Linked DNA regions of Homo sapiens: region 1 is linked to region 2. Evidence: promoter capture Hi-C in human tissues and cell types (Jung and others, 2019). All regions are on one chromosome and are shown on one strand. Each heading gives the region's core, a stretch centred on a gene start or on the middle of the fragment in contact. The rest is flanking DNA. Distances are from core to core; before and after follow the strand shown.

The links. The method cuts DNA at HindIII sites, captures the fragments that hold promoters and counts their contacts. A contact is called where the count stands out against the background at its distance.
Region 1: a fragment that was not itself captured here is called in contact with the fragment with the promoter of TADA3 in region 2 in 2 of the 25 tissues and cell types used here (heart right ventricle and thymus).

What each region holds. Positions count from the first base shown.
Region 1 is chr3:9,527,297-9,533,669 of GRCh38, forward strand. The region is part of intron 2 of LHFPL4 (LHFPL tetraspan subfamily member 4); the gene reads right to left. Among named protein-coding and RNA genes, the nearest start is that of LHFPL4, 23 kb to the right of the region's middle. The HindIII fragment of the contact is 5,325 bases long and covers 1-4,232 here.
Region 2 is chr3:9,790,062-9,796,665 of GRCh38, forward strand. It overlaps TADA3 (transcriptional adaptor 3), which reads right to left and starts at 2,412. Exons shown (of 9, transcript NM_006354.5): 1 at 2,155-2,412; 2 at 1,199-1,432. The coding sequence starts at 1,405. ARPC4-TTLL3 (ARPC4-TTLL3 readthrough) reads left to right here and starts at 2,487. Exons shown (of 12, transcript NM_001198793.1): 1 at 2,487-3,063. The coding sequence starts at 3,061. It overlaps ARPC4 (actin related protein 2/3 complex subunit 4), which reads left to right and starts at 3,021. Exons shown (of 6, transcript NM_005718.5): 1 at 3,021-3,063. The coding sequence starts at 3,061. It also overlaps a transcript of OGG1 not described here. RefSeq lists enhancers at 739-1,239, 2,344-2,870, 2,797-2,896, 2,871-3,397, 3,597-3,686 and silencers at 2,227-2,316, 2,377-2,666. The HindIII fragment of the contact is 18,412 bases long and covers 1-6,604 here.

The sequences.
Region 1 (6,373 bases), core at 320-2,819, 260 kb before region 2:
CGTGGCTCATGCCTGTAATCCCAACACTTTGGGAGGCCAAGGCAGGTGGACCACTTGAGCTCAGGAGTTTGAGACTAGCCTGGGCAACATGGCAAAACTCTGACACTACTAAAAAAAATAATAATAATACAAAAAGTTAGTGGGCATCGTGGTGCATGCCTGTAGTCTCACTTATTTGGGAGTGCTGAGGTGGGACGATTGCTTGAGCCCAGGAGTCAAAATCAGCCTGGGCAACATGGTGAAACCCCATCTCTACAAAAAATTAGTCAGGCATGGTACAAGCGCCTGTAGTCTCAGCTATTTGGAAGGCTGAGGTGGGAGGATTGCTTGAGGTCAGAAGGCAGAGGTTGCAGTGAGCCAAGATCATGCCACTGCACTGCAGCCTGGGCAACAGAGCCAGATGTTGTCTGAAAAACAAAAACAAAACCCATATACAGTAGACTAGTGTGGCGGAATAATTTTTTTAAAAACCCAGAAAACCAATAATTGTACAAATTAATTTTTCAAATACAAACACACACACACACACACACACACACACACACACACACACAGAGGCATACCCTGGGGATATTGCGAGTTTGGTTCCAGACCACCGTAATAAAACAAATATTGCAATAAAGCAAGTCACACAAATTATTTGGTTTCCCAATGCATATAAAGTCATGTTTACACTATATACTAATAGTGTGCAATAGCATATGTCTAAAAAAAACCCAATGTGTATACCTTAGTTTTAAAATACTTTATTGCTAAATTATCATCTGAGCCAGCCTTCAGCAAGTTGCAATGAAGGTTTGAGTAGCTGTAGCAATTTCTGAAAATAAGATAACAACGAAGTTTGCCACATCGATTGACTTTTCTTTCACAAAAGTTTACTCAGTAGCATATGATGCTATTTGATAGCATTTTATCTACAGAACTTCTTTCAACATTGGAATCAATCCTCTTAAATGCTACTCCTGCTTTATCAACTAAGTTTATGTAATATTTTAAATCTTTTGTGGGCATTTCAACAGTGCTCACAGCATCTTCACCAGGAGTAGATTCCATCTCAAGAAACCACTGTCTGCTCATCCATAAGAAGCAACTCCTCATCCATTCAAGTCTGATCATGAGATTGCAGCAATTCAGTCCCATCTTCAGGCTCCACTTCTAATGCTAGTTCTCTTTCTATTTTCGCCACACCTTCAGTTACTTCCTCCACTGAAGTATTCAGCTCCTCAAAGTCATCCATGAGGGCTGGAATTAACCTCTTTCAAACTCCTGTTCATGTTGACATTTTGACCTTCTCTCATGAATCACCAATGTTCCATTTATTATTATTATTATTTTTTGAGACGGAGTCTTGCTCTGTCGCCCAGGCTGTAATGCAGTGGCGCAATCTCAGCTCACTGCAACCTCTGTCTCCCGGGTTCAAGCAATTCTCCTGCCTCTACCTCCCAAGTAGCTGGGATTACAGGCGTGTGCCACCACACTGGCTAATTTTTGTATTTTTAGTAGAGATGGGGTTTCACCGTGTTAGCCAGGCTCGTCTTGAACTCCTGACCTCAGGTGATCTGCTCACCTTGACCTCCCAAAGTGCTGGGATTACAGGCATAAGCCACTGCACCCAGCCCCCCAACTTTTTTTTTTTTTTGAGATGGAATCTCACTGTGTGGCCCAGGCTGGAGTGCAGTAGCACGATCTTGGCTCACTGCAACCTCCACCTCCCGGGTTTAGGAAAATCACCAATGTTCTTTTTTTTTTTTAGATGGAGTCTCACTCTGTCACCCAGGCTGGAGTGCAGTGGCACTATCTCAGCTCACTACAACCTCTGCCTCCCAGGTTCAAGCGATTCTTCTGCCTCAGCCTCCCAAGTAGCTGGGACTACAGGTGCGTGCCACCACACCCAGCTAATTTTTGTATTTTTAGTAGAGACGGGGTTTCACCATGTTGGCCAGGCTGGTCTCGAACTCCTGATCTTGTGATCCACCCACCTTGGCCTCCCAAAGTGCTGGGATTACAGATGCGAGCCACCGCGCCCGGCCATGAATCACCAATGTTCTTAATGGCATATCTAGAGTGGTAAATTCTTTCCAGAAGGCTTTCAATTTGCATTGCCCAGATCCAACAGAGGAACAACTTATCTATGGCAGCTATAGCCTTTCAAAATGTATTTCTTAAATATTAAGACTTGAAAGTCAAAATTACTCCTTGACTCATGGGCTACAGAATGGATATTGTGTTAGCAGGCATGAAAACAGCATTAACCTCCTTGTACATCTTCCTGAGAGCGCTTGTGTGACCAGGTGCATTATAAATGAGCACTAATATTTTGAAAGGAATCTTTTATTTTATTTATTTATTTTTTTTTGAGATGGAGGCTCATTCTTTCACCCAGGCTGGAGTGCAGTGGCGTGATCTCGGCTTACTGCAACTTCTACCTCCCGGGTTCAAGCAAGTCTCTGCCTCAGGCTCCTGACAGCTGGGATTACAGGCGCCTGCCACCACACCTGGCTAATTTTTGTATTTTTAGTAGAGATGGGGTTTCACCATCTTGGCCATGCTGGTCTTGAACTCCTGACCTTCTGATCCACCCACCTCAGCCTCCCAAAGTGCTGGGATTACAGGCATGAGCCACTGTGCCTGGCTCTTTTTTTTTTTTTCCTATCCTGAGCAATAGGTCTCAACAGTGGACTTAAAATATTGAGTAAACCATGCTGTAAACACATGTGCTGTCATTCAGGCTTTTTCCATTTATAGAGCATAGGTGGAATAGAGTTAGCATAATTCTTAAGGGCCCTAGAATTTTCACGTGGTAAATGAGCACTGGCTTCAACTTAAAGTCACCAGCTGCATGGGTCCCTAATGTGAGAGTCAGCCTGTCCTTCGAAGCTTTAAAGCCAGGCATTGACTTCTCCTCTCTAGCTATAAAAGACCTAGATGGCATCTTCTTCCAACAGAAGGCTGTTTCATCTACACTGAAAATCTGTTGTTTAGTCTACCCATCTTCATCAATGACCTTAGCCAGATCTTCTAGTGACTTGCTGTAGCTTCTACATCACCACCTGCTGCTTTACTTTGCACTTTTATGCTATGGAAATGGCTTATTTTATTAAACCACATGAACCAACCTCTGCTAGCTTCCAACTTTTCTTCTGCAGCTTCCTCACCTCTCTCAATCTTCACAGAATGGAACAGAGTTAGGGCCTTGCTCTGGATTAGGCTTTGGCTTAAAGGAATGCTGTGCTGGTTTGATCTTCTATCCAGACTGCTAAAGCTTTCTCCATATCTGAAATAAGGCTGTTTTCTTTCTCATCATTCATGTGCTCACCGGAGCAGCACTTTATTTCATTCAAGAACTTTTCCTTTGCATTCACAACTTGGCCAACTTGCACAAGAGCCCTCACTTTTGGCTTATCTCAGTTTTGACACACCTTCCTCACTACTTCATCATTAACAGCTTTTGTTTTTAAATATTTATTTATTTACTTATTTTTTAGAGACAGAGTCTTACTATGTTGCCCAGGCTGGTCTTGAACTTCTGATCTCAAGAAATCCTCCTGCCTCAGCCTCCTGCAAAGTGCTGGGATAACAAGCGTGAGCCACCAGGCCCAGCCCACATTTCAATCTTTTGATTTAACGTGAGAGATGTATGATTCTTCCTTTCACTTGAACACTTAGAGGCCATAACAGGGTTATTAACTGGCCTAATTTCAAAACTGTTGTGTCTCAGGGAATAGGAAAGCCAAAGGAGGGAGAGAGACAGGGGAACAGCCAGCAGGTGTAGCAATCAAAATACGCACATTTATTTATGAAGCTTGCTGTCTTACATGGGCGCAGTTCATGGTGCCCCAAAACAATGACAATAGTAACATCAAAGATCACTGATCACAGATCACCATAAAAGATATAATCATAATAGAAAGGTTTGAGATATTGTGAAAATTTCAAAAATGTGACACAGAGCCACGAAGTGGGCACGTGCTGCAGGGAAAATAGTTCCGACAGACTTGATTGACTCAGGGTGCCACAAACCTTCAATATATTAAAAATACAATATCTGTAAAGCACAATAAAGCAAAGCACAATAAAACGAGGTATGCCTGCATATACGCTTGAGTATCTATAAGCATGTCTGGAAGGATACAGAAGCAGCTTAATGACGGTTACCTCTGAGAAGTAGCCTGGGGGAGAGAGGGAAGGAGGCAGGGAAGGAGAGCTTTTAAGAAATAAGAAACTCAGCTGGGCATGGTGGATCATGCCTGTAATCCCAGCATTTGGGAGGCCGAGGCGGGTGGATCATCTGAAATAACAATTCGAGACCAGCCTGGCCAACGTGGTGAAACCCCGTCTCTACTAAAAATACAAACATTAGCCAGGTGTGTGGTGCGCACCTGTAATCACAGCTACTTGGGAGACTGAGGCAGGAGAATTGTTTGAACCCGGGAACGGGAGGCTGCAGTGAGCCAAGATGGGCCACTGCACTCCAGCCTGGGTAACAGAGCGAGACTCCATCTCAGAAAGAAAAGAAAAGAAAAGAAAAGAAAAGACTAAAAAACTAAAGGAGAGTTCAAAGGAAGATTACTTGAGTTTAGGGAATAAAATTAGGATGAGCCTAAGAAGAGGTAAAGAATAAGAGAACATATACTTTATACTCAGGTGCTTGTTTTCTTTAAAGCTTGTGCTATCGATGTACTTTTATGTAAAGCCTTTTCATAATGCATTTTATGCTGAGCTATTGCTTTTTAGTTGTTGTGGTTTTGAGATGGAGTCTCACTCTGTCACCCAGGCTGGAGTACAGTGGCACAATCGCGGCTCACTGCAACCTCTGCCTCCCAGGTTCAAGCAATTCTTGCTCCACAGCCTCCCGAGTAGCTGGGATTACAGGTGTGCACCACTACACCCAGCTAATTTTCTAAATATTTTTAATAGAGACGGGATTTCACCATGTTGGCCAGGCTGGTCTCGAACTCCTGACCTTAGGTGATCTGCCCGCCTTGGCCTCACAAAGTGCTGGGATTACAGGCATGAGCCACCGTGCCCGGCCTTGAGTTATTGTTATTATTATTATACTTTAGAGATAAGGTCTTGCTCTGTCACCCAGGCCGGAGTACAGTGGTGTGATCATAGCTCACTGCAGCCTCAAACAACTGGTCTCAAGTGATCCTCCTGCCTCAGCCTCCCCAGTAGCTGGGACTAGAGGCACAAGCCACCACACCCAGCTAATTTTTATTTTTTTGTAGAAATGGAGTCTCACTCTCTTTCTGGGCTTGTCTCAAACTCTTGGCCTCAAGCCTCCCTCCTTGGCCTCCCAAAGTGCTGGGGTTACATGCATGAGGCACCGCGCCTGGCCTATGCTTATCTTTTTAATAGGGTTTCATTAGAACACGGTTACACCATCCTCTTTTAGGGAGGCCTTTTTTGTGTTCAGTTGCCCCTCTGTGCATGACTCAACACAGCTGCCACCTGTTATAGGGGATCAGGCTGGGTGTGCTCAGGGTCTTCTGTCCTTGAACAGACTCTCCAGAGGCCCCACTCCCTTCTCCCTTGATGTGGCCTCTCTGATCTGCCACCTACCACTTTTTCACCTGGGTCCCTGTCCCCCAGGCCCTGCAGATGGAAGTTCAGCTATAGGGAAGAAACAGGCCTCAGTGGGGGCAGAAGATTCTGCTGCTGCAGGGGCCCTGGAGGACAGTGCGGGGCTGCAGAAGCTGCCAAAGGAGCTTTCACCTGCCCACCCCACGCCACATGTCCCCTGTGTGCTAGGACCCTCCTCAGCAAGAGAAGGAAAATGTCTACAAGTTCAAAGGGGGCAGGCACTGGAAGGTGATCCAGCACCAGGTATTACAGTCTCCAAAAGCTGCTTGCTGTAGCATCTGCTGGGGCTGAACCCACTGAACCATCCCCTAGACCCAGACCCCTCTTTTCAGGCTGTCCCCAGCTGAACTGTGTAGATGAGTTCACCAAAACATATGTGCTAGAAGGTTCGTAGGAGCTTTACTCACAATCCCAAATTGGAAACAACACAAATGTCTATTAACAATGTAATGGATAAATAAATTGTGCAGTTTACTCCAACAAAATAGTATACAGCAGTGAAGACGGACAAACTGTGGTTACCTGCAACAACCTGGATGAATCTTCATGTGAAGCAAAAGTGTGATTCCATTTATATACATTTCAAAAACAGGCAAAATCAGTCTATAGGATTAAAAGTCAGGCCGGGTGCGGTGGCTCACGCCTGTAATCCCAACACTTTGCGAGGCCAAGGTGGGCGGATCACGAGGTCAGGAGATCGAGACCATCCTGGCTAACATGATGAAACCCCGTCTCTACTAAAAATACACAAAATTAGCTGGGTGTGGTGGCGGGCGCCTGTAGTCCCAGC
Region 2 (6,604 bases), core at 1,162-3,661:
CCTGGGTCTTTCCCCATCCTCTTTTTACCTAGTAAACTCTTACTCATCCTTCAAAATTCAGCTCATTTTCTGTGCCTGGCCTCCTAGAACTTTATTCATATACTTCTCATAATCTCATTCACTTGTTCATCTATACTGATTCACTTCTGTATCACCCATGCCAGTCACATACTGTTTAACAGAAGAGTCCTCTCAGCAAACCTTCACTTCGATGTCACCACTACTGAGATGCCTTCTCTCAATCAGTTACCCAGGTTCTTAGATGCTAAAATACAACTTGAGTCATAGCCTTCCTCAAGGAGGGTCCATGGATTCCCAGGGACAAGTTAATTCCATTCATCCTTTTAGGTCCAGTTGGCACCTCCTTCCTCCACAAGTCTCTGGCACTTCACAGCTCCAACGTGCACCCAATCGTGTTGTTTGGTCACACTGGAATGACCATCACACCTTGTCTCTTCAACTAGACCATAAGCTACTGAGGACCAGAAAGCCCACCTTAACCATCTCTATTTTGCAGAATACAGCATAGCGCCTGGCACACAAGGCTCAAGGCATCTTTATGCAGTGAATAAAGTCATCAGAGTAGCAAATAAATAACATCTGAAGTACTTACTTAGTGTCTGGCATTGGGCTGAGTTTTTGCAAAAAATTCTCTTTTAATCCTCACAAAAGCACTAAGGTAGGTCCTATTATTCACCCCACTTTGCAGATAGGGAAACTGACACTCAGAGATATGAGGCAACTTTCTCAAAGTCACATAGCTAGGAAACAGCAATGCTAGCAAGCGCTTATGCCAGGATTCAAATCCAGGTTTCCCCATTCCAGTTCCCTAGGACTGCTAACCACAACATCACATCACCTGGTATGTACTTGACTTTCTCACTTTCCTAGTTGCCAAGCTCCCTGACAGCCATAACTGTCCTAATTACCTTTCTCTAATGACTAGCATAGGACCCAGAACACAATGGGGGATGAGTGGGGTGCCAATAAAAGCTTACTGAATTAGAAATCTTGCAATTTAAGAGGATCATGCATATTCTTGTGTATTTTTTGTGTCATGCAAACCCAGTTTGCGTCTCTCTCCCTCTCCCCACAAACCCCTGTACCCCAAGTCTCAGCATATGGGGCTAACTCAATGACCCATCCCATAACTTGTTGCAGTCCATCTCTGGTGCTGGCCCCTCTCTGGGGTTATCACCTGGGTTTCGGCCTCAAGCACACGCAGGCGCCGGCTGGCAGAAGACAGCAGGGTCTCCAGCTCCAGCTGCAGGGTGTCCAGCTCCTCGATGCCGATGCCATCATCCTCAGAGCGTGCCAGCACTGCCGTGTAGCGGGGACAGACCTTCAGGTGATCCACAGACTTGAAGTCGTGGAACTGCAAGGGGCAGTCTTTCAACTCACTCATGGCCCAGGATATGGGGATCCTGTGGAGCTGGAGAGGACAGGGCCATTGATGGGAGACAAAGTGGTCTGAGAAAAGCCCAAGGGCTTCTTACCTCCAGGGACAGCCTCAAGGAAGCCCAGCTTCAGTCCCTTACTGACAAAATTGATGGCACAGTTCCTACTCACAGGGCACTTAACTGGGTACCAAGCTAGGTGCAGAGCACTTTATCAGTTTATCTCACTGAATTTCTCACTCAGCACCATGAACAAGGACCATTGTGATCTCGTTTTTACAGAGAAAGAAACTGAGACTCTGTAAGGGTGGGTATGTGCCTATGCTTCCAAGATGCAATTTGAACCCCGCTAGTCTTGAGTCTGCACCCTGATCACCATGCTATACTGCTATGCCTTGCCTCGCCTTTCTGATGCTCTTTCCTTCCCTTCTATTTCTCTTGGGTTCTGCTAAGACTTTGAGTTCCAAGCACCCCATTCTTACCATGTTCTCTGGGACTCTTGGCCTCTTTTCTTACCCTATTCCACCTTTCTCCCTTCTCTAGTCACTAACAGTGGTTTAGAACGTGGGCTGGTAAGCCAGACAGACCTGGGTTCAAGCCCAGGCTTTACCATTCTCTACTTATATGCCCCTGAACATGTTATTTGACCTTTTTCAGTCTCAGTTTTTCCATCTGTAAAATGGGGACAAAAGAAGTCTCGGTCTGTTTCCCCATTAAAAGTCTGAATCTGAAAAATGGGGATAACAATAGTACCTACCTCCCTGGGATGTTCTGAGGATTAAGAGATGATGCCCGTCAAGAGCCCAGTTCAGTGTCTGGCACAGAAGTGGGACTGTTTAATGGCTGGCCCCGCCCGGGGGTCGCCCAAATGTCCCGCCTTCAGAGTCCTCGTTCTCTAGGGACACCCTAGTGCGACCCCCGCCCCCTCTACCTCCTCGCTGCGGCCTCCTACGGCCCCAGGGGCCGCGGGAGGGGGCGGGGAGTTCCGGTCGATGTGAGCAACCGCCCCGGAACTGGCTATGGGCGGGCCCCTTGCAGTTGACGCGGGGGCGGGGAGTCAGCGAGGGCGAGCCTACTGGAGTTTGCCGGGGGTGGGAAGAAGGTGGGCCTCGAGCAAAGCCGCTAGAGGTGGGGTGCGGGTGGTCGGCCTCAGGCGAGCCCCGGGGCACAGCCCGGGGCGGGAGGCGGAGCTTGGCGGCCGAGATCTCCGCGCTGCAGTTAGCCCCGCCGAGCGCCAGGAGCTGCGGGTAGGAGGGGCGAGAGAAAGGATGGGGGTACAGAACCGGAAGAAACGAAGGGCTCGTCCGCTTCGGCTTGTCCTAATTTGGTGCCCAATCTGAAGCTGGGCTGTACCATTGCATACCTGGGGGAGGCTGTGGCAAAGGTGACAAGAAGGCCGAAGGCACAAAGGGAAGCTGCACCCATTCCTGGAGGAGCTTAAATAGTGACTCGAGTGCAAGAATTTAAAAATACCGAGACAGCCCTAGGTGGAAAACTTCCGGAAGGCCCAAGCGTTCGTAAGGGCTCTCTACCCCGCTCGGAGCATAGATGGTACCGTCCGGAAGTCCGGGCGGAGACCGTAGCTGCGCTTCTCGCGAAAGGGCAGGCATCGCGGGGCTGGCCACTTCCGTACTTCCGCTTTCCGGCCCAGCCAGCGCCCGCGATGGTGAGAGAGCCGGGCCCCCGGCCAGGGACCCCCGGCTGTTCGGCCTCAGGGCAGTGGGTCGGTGGGAGATGTGGCTTTGCCGCAGGGGCGCGGGGCCGAGGGATGTCCGGGGGTTGTGGGGACACGATGAGGGTGGGAAAAAGAGACGGGGCGGGGGCCCGAGGTGAGGAAGGGGCGAGTGGGGGTACTCCCTGGTATGAAGTGGGCCTTGTGGCTTCACGGTCAGCCTTCGAAGCAGGTAGGGGCTTTTCCTGAGCCCTGTAGGAACCCGGAAGTGGGGTCTCCTAGGCTCTTTGGAGCATTTCGAGGGTACGTAGTCGGCCTCTTAGCCTCTGAGGCATGAAGCAAGTCCACCTGCCTATCCACAGTGGAACTTCACGACATACGCCCTTTGTCCTCTTCTGCCTTCCTGACCCTACAGTTGCTTAAGGCAGGCGGCCACACTTCCTTATCCCATTCTTGGTACCTCCAGCCCTGCTTCCACCCCATTGGAGGATCTCTCGTGTTGCTTCCATTCAGGCCCTTCCTGGTCAGAACTGAACTGTGTCAGCCTTAGTGTATGTTAGCTGTGATACTGCTCATCCCTCCCTTCCTGGAAGTCCTCCCTTTTTCATACATGTGGGCCTTTTTCATACATGTGGGCCTTTTTCATACGTGTGGGCATTCCTGGGAGTTGTGACTTTGGATGACCATCTCCCTCTTCGTCACACCTTCCCTGGTGATACCGATCTAGTCTCCTGGCTTCGATAACTTTCTTCATTCTGATGACTCCTAATCTGGCTTCTCAGCTCTCTTTCAAGGTTTGCCTGGATATCTTGAAGAGACCTTGAAATTAGACCTCTAGTTCAAAACTCATATTCTATTCTAAATTTGTTCTTCCTCCTGGGTTCCCTATCCTGGCAAACTTTTGTGACCTCATGTCTCTGCTAAAAATCTGTATTTTTTTTTTCTAGTGGGGCACATGCCTCTTGATTTTTAAAAGTTCAAGTTTATTGAGGTATTACATGAGACTACATCTGTTTTATTCATGAAAGGACAGGCGTCACGGAGCCAGTCACCCTTTTTAGGTTTACTTTCTATAACTGTTGACAAAGGCCAGGCGTGGTGGCTCACGCTTGTAATCCCAGCACTTTGGGAGGCAGAGGCGGGCGGATCACGACGTCAGGAGATCGAGACCATCCTGGCTAACACGGTGAAACCTCTTCTCTACTAAAAATGCAAAAAATTAGCCGGGCGTGGTGGTGGGCACCTGTAGTCCCAGCTACTCAGGAGGCTGAGGCAGGAGAATGGCGTGAACCCAGAAAGCAGAGCTTGCAGTGAGTCGAGATCGTGCCACTGCACACCAGACTGGGCAACAGAGTAAGACTCCGTCTCAAAAAAAAAAGCGTTGCAAAAACTTGCTGGGTATGGTGGCATGCGCCTGTAGTACCATCCGCTCAGGACACTGAGGCAGGAGGATCACTTGAGCCCAGAAGTTCGAGGCCGTAGTACACTGTGATCACTCCTGTGAATAGCCACTGCACTTCAGCCTGGACAATATAGCAAGATCCCGTGTCTTAAAAAAAAAAAGTCAAGTTGTGTAACCACTACTGCAACCAAAATACAGAACATTTCCGTCACCCCAAAAAGTTCCCTCAAGCCCTTTTGTAATCAGTCCTCTCCTTCCCACCCCAGACAACTACTGATTTTTCCCCCCTGTAGTTTTGCCTTTTTCAGATTGTCATGTAAATGGAATTCTTTAGTATGCAGGCTTTTAAGTGTGGCTTCTTACCATAATACATTTGAGAGTCAACCATGTTGTGTGTATCAATAGTTACTCTTTTTTTATTACCAAGTAGTAGTTAATTGAATGGCTGGACCACAGTTCGTTGGAAGTGGTTTTTCTTTTTCTTTTTTTTTAAGACACAGTCTCGCTCTGTCACCCAGGCTGGAGCACAGTGGCGTGATCTCGGCTCACTGCAACCTCAGTCTCCTGGGTTCAAGCAATTCTACTGCCTCAGCCTCTCAAGTAGCTGAGATTACAGGCACCCGCCACAGCTAATTTTTTGTATTTTTAGTAGAGACGGGGTTTTGCCATGTTGGCCAGGCTGGTCTTGAACTCCTGACCTGAGGTGGTCCACCCACCTCGGCCTCCCAAAGTGCCGGGATTACAGGCGTGAGCCCCTGGGAAGTTTTTTTTCAGTTCCATTATCCACTCCATCTAATGTCAGTCCAACGCTTGTGATACTCTTTGCTTGTGATACAGTCTGCTGTATGTCTCACTTCCCTCTCCAAATCATTCTCCACAGAGCCATCATGCAGCTGCAGTCATGAACTTCCTCCTCAGAAAGCCCCAGTAGTTCCTTACCCCCTTAAGAGAAAAGCTAAACTTGGTAGCCTGGCATTCAAGATTCCCCATGATCTTACCTCAGCCTACCGCTGCAGCCTCATTTAGTGAATCTAAAATGCTTCTCATATACAGAAACATTGTACTCATTACTACTCTGGAACTCTTGCTGTCCTTTTGTGTTACTCTAATCTTAATTATTTCTTTCGCTTATTTATTCTACAGGAAATGAGTGAGACACTGTATATGTTAGGTACTGAGCTAGGTTGGAGGCTATATAGCTGTGAATAAAATAGATATGGTCTGTTGACCATGAGGTTTACAGCCTAGTAAAGGAGAAATCACTTACAAAGGCATGAAGGAGGGCAGGTGCAGTGGTTCATGTCTGTAATCCCAGCACTTTAGGAGGCCGAGATGGGCGGGTCACTTGAGGTCAGGAGTTTGAGACCAGCCTGGCCAACATGGCGAAACCCCATCTCTACTAAAAATACAAAAATTAACCAGGCACGGTGGTGCACACTTGTCATCTCAGCTATTCGCATGGCTGAGGCAGGTGAATCACTTGAACCCGGGAGGTGGAGGTTGCAGTGAGCCAAGATTGCACCACTGCGCTCCAGCCTGGACAACAGAGTAAGACTCTGTCTCAAAAAAAAATAAAAAAGGCCAGGCACGTTGGCTCACGCCTGTAATCCCAACACTTTGAGAGGCCGAGGTGGGCGGATTGCCTGAGGTCAGGATTTCAAGACAAGCCTGACCAACACGGTGAAACTCCGTCTCTACTAAAAATACAAAAATTAGCCAGGCATGGTGATGTGCGCCTGTAATCCCAGCTACTCGGGAGGCTGAAGCAGGAGAATCGCTTTAACCCAGGAGGCGGCGATTGCCGTGAGCAGAGATCGTGCCACTGCACTCCAGCGAGGGTGACAGAAGCGAGACTCCCTCTCAAAAATAAATATTAAGAAGACATGAAAGACATTTTTTTGTCAATTGTAATAAATACTTTATAGGGGGATGTCAAGGTCTCTCTCAAGAGGCCTTCCTTAATTAAGCTGAGATCTGGAGGATGACTTAGGCAAAGAAAGAGGAGAAAAGCCTACAGATAGATGGTCAAGCATGTGTAAAGCTCTGAGGTGGGAAAGAATTTGGCTGATACAAGGACTGACCAGTGCAGCTAGAAGCTAATCCCTCTCCTAAGAATGTCCTTATTCTGGCAGG